3 separate regions of the Homo sapiens genome follow, and regions 2 and 3 are each linked to region 1. Evidence: promoter capture Hi-C in 16 types of primary human blood cells and fetal thymus (Javierre and others, 2016). All regions are on one chromosome and are shown on one strand. Each heading gives the region's core, a stretch centred on a gene start or on the middle of the fragment in contact. The rest is flanking DNA. Distances are from core to core; before and after follow the strand shown. Region 1 holds the start of CD244 (CD244 molecule). Region 2 holds the start of LOC101928372 (a long non-coding RNA gene). Region 3 has its middle 18 kb from the start of SLAMF7.

Region 1 (2,700 bases), core at 104-2,603:
AAAATGCAGAACCCTGGCTGGGCATGGTGGCTCACACCTGTAATCCCAGCACTTTGGATGGGGGAGACCAAGGTGGGCAGATCACCTGAGGTCAGGAGTTCAAGACCAGCCTGGCCAACATGGTGAAACCTGGTCTCTACTAAAAATACAAAAATTAGCCAAGCATGGTGGCGCACGTCTGTAATTTCACCTACTCGGGAGGCTGAGGCATGAGAATCACTTGAACCCGGGAGGCAGAGTTTGTAGTGAGCCAAGATCACGCCACTGCACTCCAGCCTGGGTGACAGAAGGAGACTCTGTCTCAAAAAATAAATAAATAAATAAAAATTAAAAATGAAATAAATAAATTAATTCAATTAAATTAAATGCGGGATCCAGGTTTCAGAGCATCCTGGACCCCAGAACTGGAGAAAGAGGGGAGCAGCCCTCAGCTGGGATCCCCAGGAGTAAATGTTAGATGGCTCCATGCCTGGCTGACAGCTTTAGGTTTGCTGTGGAGCTTCCTCATATTGTCTCCTTCTTCTGCCCCAACCCTGCATGTCCCTAATAATTTCCAGGCTCCTGTGGCATCTGGATGGCTGAAGAAGCCGGGGAGATGAGGGACCATGCCTTCCAGCTTCTTCCTGGCTGCTGGCCTCGCCCTCCCCTCCCTGGGCTCAGCTTTCCTGCCTCAGGGGTCCATCCATCTGTCTCTGAGCTCGAGAACCACCCACTTCCTTGGGACTGCTTCTCTTCTCTCATGCCACAATTGGAGGATGCAATTTTCATCATCTTTACAGGCGGCTGGAAGGAGGCTTCTCTCTCCACTACACGGAAGGGTAAATTGAAGCCAGTGGGAAGGAATCTCCTCACCCAAGACTTCCTGGATTGCTGGTGGCAGGGCCAGATACCCCTCTCACAGACCTCCCAGTGCACTGCCAGCCTGTCCTGTCTGATTTAGACTGTCAGAGCTGTCAGGAGCTGCTCGGAGTCAAGTTCCAGATGACTGTGTATGTGGCACAAGCAGAGGCTCTGGCTCTGATCTCCCTGAGGGGCACAGCTCCTAGTCCCTCCCTCGCCCCACGCCAGGTAGGACCTCCTTACCTTTGCCCTGATACACCTTGAGGAGCAGGAGGAGTATGAGGGTGACCACTTGCCCCAGCATTTCCACAGGACAGAGGGGCCAGGCCAGCCCCTCCACCCCACCAGACTCTCTGCCGTGCACGGGCTCAGCAGTCCCCAGTCAGCAAGAGGACGATGGGGAGCAGAACTGCCTTGCAACCTGTCCAGCCACAGTTTCCTCAATTAGAGGCTGTTAACGCCTGCTGTGAGCTGACAAGGCCACTGAGAAAGCCCCAGCGCCTGGAGCTGGTCTGACAGTTCCCACAAGCCAAACTGGTGAAGCTTACCTCAAGTGGGAGGGTGCTTGAAGTTCACAGTGACTCACAAAGCCAGTTTCAAAATTGCATCCCGTTCTCTGCTTCAGCCCAAGAAGTCTTCCAATTCTCTGAATCCTATATGGAGAGACCCCCATGGGGGCCAAACAGCCAGTATCCCCAACTGTTCCATTCCAACAGACATTGTGGAGGTGGAGTGGAGAGGGGCTGGAGGAGGAGTGGGCTGAAACGTAGGGCCCTGGATAAGCGGCTAACAGTGTTGAAGGAAAGGAGGAGTAGCTGAGAGAACATAGGAAGAGACCTAAGGGCTGGAGGCACTAGAAAAATCTAGCAAGCCTGGGGATTCCATGCAAGTTGACACCAAAGTTTAAGCACATGTAAATTAAATTTGTTTCATAAGAATTTGTTTCACACGGGGCACAGTGGCTCACGCCTGTAATCCCAACACTTTGGGAGACTGAAGCAGGCAGATCACTTGAGATCAGGAGATCGAGACTAGCCTGGCCAATATGGTGAATCCCCACCTCTACTAAAAATAGAGAAATTAGCCAGGCTGGGTGGCGTGCACCTGTAATCCAAGCTACTTGGGAGGCTGAGGCAGGGGAATCACTTGAGCAAAGGAGGTGGAGGTTGCGGTAAGCCAAGATCACGCCACTGCACTCCAGCCTAGGTGACAGAGCGACACTGTGTCTCAAAAAAAAAAAAAAAAATTTTGTTTTGCTCCACATTTCCGATCTGTATGCCTAGATTCCCTCCCTTCCTCTTTTTCTACTTTTCTATAGTAGTCCTCTCTTCCCTCTTTTGTCTTCTCCCAGAAGTGACATGGGCCTATTTTTGCTGCCTTCCCATCCATGCTTGGACGCCACCCTCCAGGAAGGCCAGGCAGCTCTGGATCTGCTTAGGCCCCCATGGAGGGGTGGGGACAGCGGCATCCCCCCTCCCCTGGAACACTGTGCTTCAAGGCCAGGCCCCAGGGTTCATGCCTCTTTCTTTCTTCCTTCTGCTTTCCCCTTAACAAATACTTTCAGTTCCCTTCAAGTCCGCTCTTATTCTCTTTTTCCATCCTTTGGTCCATTTCCAGCCACCCTGTCTGAACTGGGCAGGGGGCAGCAGACTGACAGCTTCAGCTGCCAACAGAGGCAGCAGCGGGGCTCTGGACAGAGCGCTGGATTTAGAGTCAAAGACTTGGACTTGCAGCTCCCATTCAGCAACTTACAACCTATGTGATTCTGGCCTTGTTGCTGTCTGAGCCTGTAGGGTCAACAATACATCCTCCCCACCTTCACAAGGCAGTTTTCAGGATCAAATTAAAAATGATACTCCA
Region 2 (2,700 bases), core at 196-2,695, 68 kb after region 1:
CAGTCTTCAGTATATCCTCAACACAGCCAAAGTCATCCTGTTAAATCAGGCTACCCTCCTACTCAGACCTCTCTGAAGGCTTCTAGTCTTGCCCAGAAGGCCCACAATATCCTACACAATCTGCTCCCATCTTACCTTTGTGCTGTCATGACCTGCTGCTTTCCTCCATACTTATGCAGCTTCTGCTAGCCAAATCTCCCTGCAGCTCCCTGAACGCAGTGAAGATACTCCCATCTCAATACCTTGGCAGTTGCTATTCCCTCTGCCTGGTACTTTATGGCTCAATCCCTCACCTTCTTCAGATCCTTCCTCAATGTCACCTTCTCACTGAAGTCTTCTTTAAAGATCTATTAAAGTTGTAAACCACCACCACCCCCAATATATCTATGTCGCTACTCAACTTTCTTTTTCTCCATAGCACTTTTCAAACTTAACATTCTAGTCTGGGTGTGGTGGCTCATGCCTGTAATCCCAGCACTTTGGGAGGCTGAAGCGGGGGGATCATTTGAGCCCAGGAGTTCAAGAACAGCTGGGCAACATAAGGAGACCTGGTTTAAAAAAATAAAAATAAATAAATAAATAAAAACTTGACATTCTATTATTTATTTTTATAGCATATTGTATATTTCCTGGTACTAGGGTACAATCTCCAGAAAGGCAGAAATGTGTACCTGACTTGTTGCTATATCCCCAGCATCTAGAATATGTTCTGGCACATAATAGGCTCGCAATTAATGCTTTTAAAAGAAATAAACACACAAATTTGTGATTAGAAAACATTCATGAAGCCTGCTGTTAGTTCTAGAGCAGCCACTAAAAGGATAGAAAAAAAGCTTACAATTTTAAAACTAGTAGAGAGAAAAAAACAATGACACAATTGTGTCAGTTTCCTAGGGTTGCCATAACAAATTGTCACAACCTAGGTGGCTTTTTAAGAAATTACTCTATTTCAGAGGTGAGAAGTCCAAAATTAAGGCATCAGCAGGACTGTGCTCTGTCCAAAGACTCTGCAGGAGGATCTTCTCTTGCCTCATCCAGCTTCAGGTAGAAAGCAATCCTTGGGTTTTTTGTTTGTTTGCTTTTGGTTTTGATAGAAATGGAGTTTCACTGTATTTTTTGCCCAGGCTGGTCTCAAACTCCTGGGCTCAAGCAATCATCCCACCTCAGCCTCCCAAAGTACTGGGATTACAGGTATGAGGCACCATGCCTGGCCAATCCTTGGTATTTATTGATTTGTGGCCACATAACTCCCTTCTCTGCCTCCGTCTTCATACAGCTGCCTTCCATCTGTGTGTGTTTCTGCATCTGTGTCTCTTCTCTTCTTATAAGGATATTAGTTATATTGGAATTAGGGCCCACCCTAATCCACTATAACTGCATTTTAAATAGTTGCATCTGCAAAAATCTCATTTCCAAATAAGGTCACATTCACAGGTACCTTGGATTAGGACTTTAACATACCACTTTAGGGAACACAGTTCAACTCACAATAGCAATCATCAGTCTTGGTCTTGAATTATGTCTATATTCATACAGAATGCTCAGCAATGCTATGATCTGAACATTTATGTCCTCTCAAATTCATATGTAGGTTTGTTAATATCCTGTTTAGAATTGTTGCATATACAGTCATGAGGGTGGTTGGCTTATAATTATCTTTTCTTGTGATACTCTTGTGAGATTTTCATATCAAGGTTATGCTGGATACATTGTTAGAGGAGCAGCCCACAAGACCACCCTCACTTCTGACACCGATTGCAAGGTTGGGGTCCCCCAATATCCTCCTCCTCTCTGACATTAATTGTCAGCTTGGGGGGACCCCAAGACCACCCGTGAGTTTAATAATTCACAAGACAAACTCACAGTGCTCATGGAAAGTTACGGTTTATTGCAGCTAAGAATACAGGTTAAAATCAGCCAAGGGAAGGGGTACATAGGGCAGAGTTCAGGAAAGCTCTAAACACAGAACTCCCAGTTGTCCTTTCCATGAGTTGTGGACAGTGTTAATTTCCTGACATCCAGTGTGTGATAATACTCGCAGAATATTGTCAACCAGGGAAGCTTACTCAGGCCAGTTTATTAGGCTCAATCACATAAATCTGGTCAGCTGCCCTCAGTCTCCTAGCCCTTGCAAAGTTTGAGCTGATACCACTGTTCTGGTGTGGGGTTTTCATGAGGTTGCAGTCACATGGTGGCTGGGGTTGGGATAATCTTTAAGACTCTTTCTCTAACATGTCCGATCCCTGGGTGGGCAGACTGAAACAGCTACAGAAAGAAGCATATATGGCTTCTTGGGCATCTTTCTACTTCTATATGATCTTTTCACATGGTCTCTCCAGCATAGCAGCTTCAGGATAGTGGACTTCTCACTTAATAAATCAGGATCCGAAGGCACAAGTCCTAAGAAAGAGAAAGCCAGGAAGAAGCTGTATCATTTTTTAGGATGCAGTCTCAGAGGTCACACTTCTGCCATATTCTTTTCATGAAAACTTAGTCACTAAGCCCGCCCAAATTTGGTGGGGTGGGGGGAATTACCAAAGAATTGGCAGGCTATATGCAGAATATGCCATATCAGTGAATTTTCTATGTCAGAATGATCTTTCCAAGGTGAAAAACAATACTGGGTCAGGGTTGGTCTCTGGATTTTGAAAGCAACACATATAACATGTGAGCCTGCTGCTTTCATCTAGGCCAATTTTA
Region 3 (2,700 bases), core at 103-2,602, 110 kb before region 1:
GCTTGAGCCTGGTAGGTTGAGGCTGCAGTGAGCTATAATTGTGCTACTGCACTCCAGCCTGGGCAACAGAGTGAGACTCTGACTCACAAAACAACAACAACACAACAACTATGGGTTTTCAAGTTAGAAAATGTTATGACATCACAAATATAAAAAGTAGAATGCAAATTTAATGTGCTATATGATTACAGCTGTGTTTTAGAAAAAATCTCTACAGGGAAAAATTTGGAAGAAAAAACATCAAAATAGTAACACCAGTTGTTTAGGGAGGGTGAAAGCTTAGGTGGCTTGGTTTTTTCCTATTTTCATTCATTTTCTGAATATTCCTCAATGAGAAAGTATGTATTGCATAATAGAGTAGAGGAAATTTTAAATAGGTGCTCAGTGAGAAAAACGAGGCACTACTCACTACGTGGGGTTGAGGGGAAAGTCTGAGACCCTCATGGTAAGGGTGTGGGGGAGGATGGAAAGACCTCCTCGAGTGAGAATGGGTGGGGAGAAAGGAGAAACCCTCCACATAATGACAGAGGAGAAGATGACTTTCCCTCAGAGAGGGCTGCTGGAGGCTGAGGGGAGCTTCACAGTGTGTGAAGACAGAGGCGTGGAGAGGGGGATGCTGGGACTGAGGATGCATCTGTTCTGCCTTCCCCTCTCTCCTCAGAACCCATTCAGATGATAAATAATTAGGGTTAATCATACTTTGGGGTTTTTTAAACCAGTGACTGAAACAGGACCTAGGGAGACCAATAGATCTGGTCTCTGGACACTCAATAAATTCTGTCCCAAAGCTAGTTGCAGAAAGAAGCTTCCCCTCATGAGTTCAACCAGTAGGCAAAGGAAACCACCAGCTCTTCAGGGTGAGAAGTCACACCACCTCATAGCCCCATTACATGCAGCCTCCAGAACTGTGTGGTTTGCAACTTGTGAGGTGCAAATAACAAATTCGTAAACATTGAAACCTTGGTGGAAAGTAAAGAAGGTATCTGTACCATTTCAGTAAGGCTTTCACTCATTCATTTGATCATGTATGCATTCATTCATTTATTCATTCAGCAGTACTTATTGAGCACCAGTAAGTGCTGGACATTATGCTGAACTCAGGGAATACAGCAGTGGGCCACAACAGAGGTCTCTGCCCTCAGGGTGCTTACATTCTAATGACAGAGGCCAACACTCAAATATCCTTTAAATAACATGGTTGCAGTGATGACTGCTATGAAAGAGAGGTGTGTGGAGCCAAGAATGGCAAATTTTCCTGTGGTCAGAGACAGTATCTCCAAAGTGATGAAGACTGAGCTGAGATCGGAAGATGAGTAGGAGCTACTTACAAGAAGTGGGAAGGGAAAATAAAACCCTTCTAGCCAGAGGTGCAAAGGCCTTGTGGTGAGAGGACCTAAAAGAACGAAAGTCAGTGTGGCCAGCAGAGAGAGTTGCACTTTTAAAATTTCATTAGTTGCAGTATGGGAAACAGATTGTAGGGGGTCAAGACTGGATGTAGGCAAACTGAGTCAGAAGGCTCTTACCGTTATCCAGGAGAGAGGTGATGGTAGGTTGGACAAGCATAGTAGGATGCAGAGAGAGGGAAGGATGCTCTCAAGAGGTATCTAAGGGATAAGGAGGTTCCTGCTTTCAGTACTGTCTTGGGAATGTGTGCTGATCTGGAAAAGGAGGTGGGAAGATGGGCCTTTGCTTTTGATAGCCTCTTGGGACTAGAAGGACAAAGTTTGGAGTCTGGGGCTACCAAGGTTAGAGAACTGGTAAATCCCTCATCTTTTTGACTTGGGACCCCAAAAGACTTACCCTAGGAGACTTATCCTTCTTGTAAACAAGAAGTACACCAGTTTTAATTCATCTATGGGGCCAAGAAAATCTCAAAACTGGTATTAGATTAAAGAGATCCAAGCTTACGAGTGCCCACAAGTACCTTACAGAAGCAAACAAAGACCATCACTAAAAGAAAATAACATTCTTAGGCCTCACAATTTTCCTACAAATAATTTTTCATAAGCAATGTTCATCATATGTTCAGAGATATCCAGGCCCATGAGGAGGATCCAGGCCCATGGGGATCATCCTCCTCCATGAGGAGACCCATGAGCAAGACCCTCCTGGTGGGGACAGCCTATCACAGACTGCAGCCCAGGATGCAGCCCGGCCCACCTCCCTCTCATTTCATCCCAAGAAGATGGAAGGAGGAACTTCCAGCCTCCTCAGTTCATGTACTTGTAGACAGACTTTAAAGATGTTTGGAGTTCTGACTATAGTCCTAAGCATACTCTTTATTGCAATCTGTCAAGAACATAGCCAGCAACAGGGAAGAGTTGATAAACCATAACATGATCATTTATAATATTTAATGTTTAGTACAGTCACAATTGCCAATCATTGTTCTAAATAATACATATATATATGTGTGCATGTATATACATATGTACATTTATTTAATCTTCATAACAAACATAACCATTTTATAGATGAGGTAGTTGAGACCAAGATTGTCTTTTGTCTAATTGGGTTTTGTGGGTTGTTTTGTTTTGTTTTGTTTTGTTTTGTTTTGTTCGGCTCATATGTATTACTGCTCTAGGCAGTATTAATTAATTGATTAATTTATTTAAAATTTATTATTTTAAAATAAATGCTGGTACTGCTTGTCTTTACTAATTATAAAAGTTATTTTTTCCTGCAATTAAAACTTATTAT

Evidence for each region. Contacts are between HindIII fragments. The CHiCAGO score rates a contact against its expected background, and 5 or more counts as called.
Region 2: a contact is called between a fragment that was not itself captured here and the fragment with the promoter of CD244 in region 1, in 9 of 17 cell types (M0 macrophages, erythroblasts, M1 macrophages and 6 more). The highest score is 8.9, in M0 macrophages.
Region 3: a fragment that was not itself captured here is called in contact with the fragment with the promoter of CD244 in region 1 in 2 of 17 cell types (naive B cells and total CD8 T cells); the score reaches 5.1 in naive B cells.

The regions. Positions count from the first base shown.
Region 1 is chr1:160,861,534-160,864,233 of GRCh38, forward strand. It overlaps CD244 (CD244 molecule), which reads right to left and starts at 1,354. Exons shown (of 9, transcript NM_016382.4): 1 at 1,084-1,354. The coding sequence starts at 1,144. RefSeq lists an enhancer at 1,170-1,219. The HindIII fragment of the contact is 2,100 bases long and covers 1-1,381 here.
Region 2 is chr1:160,929,778-160,932,477 of GRCh38, forward strand. It overlaps LOC124904441 (a long non-coding RNA gene), which reads right to left. Exons shown (of 2, transcript XR_007066689.1): 2 at 1,869-2,400. It overlaps LOC101928372 (a long non-coding RNA gene), which reads left to right and starts at 2,688. Exons shown (of 6, transcript NR_110695.1): 1 at 2,688-2,700. The HindIII fragment of the contact is 1,228 bases long and covers 832-2,059 here.
Region 3 is chr1:160,755,690-160,758,389 of GRCh38, forward strand. No RefSeq gene overlaps it. Among named protein-coding and RNA genes, the nearest start is that of SLAMF7, 18 kb to the left of the region's middle. RefSeq lists a silencer at 1,403-1,472. The HindIII fragment of the contact is 1,098 bases long and covers 804-1,901 here.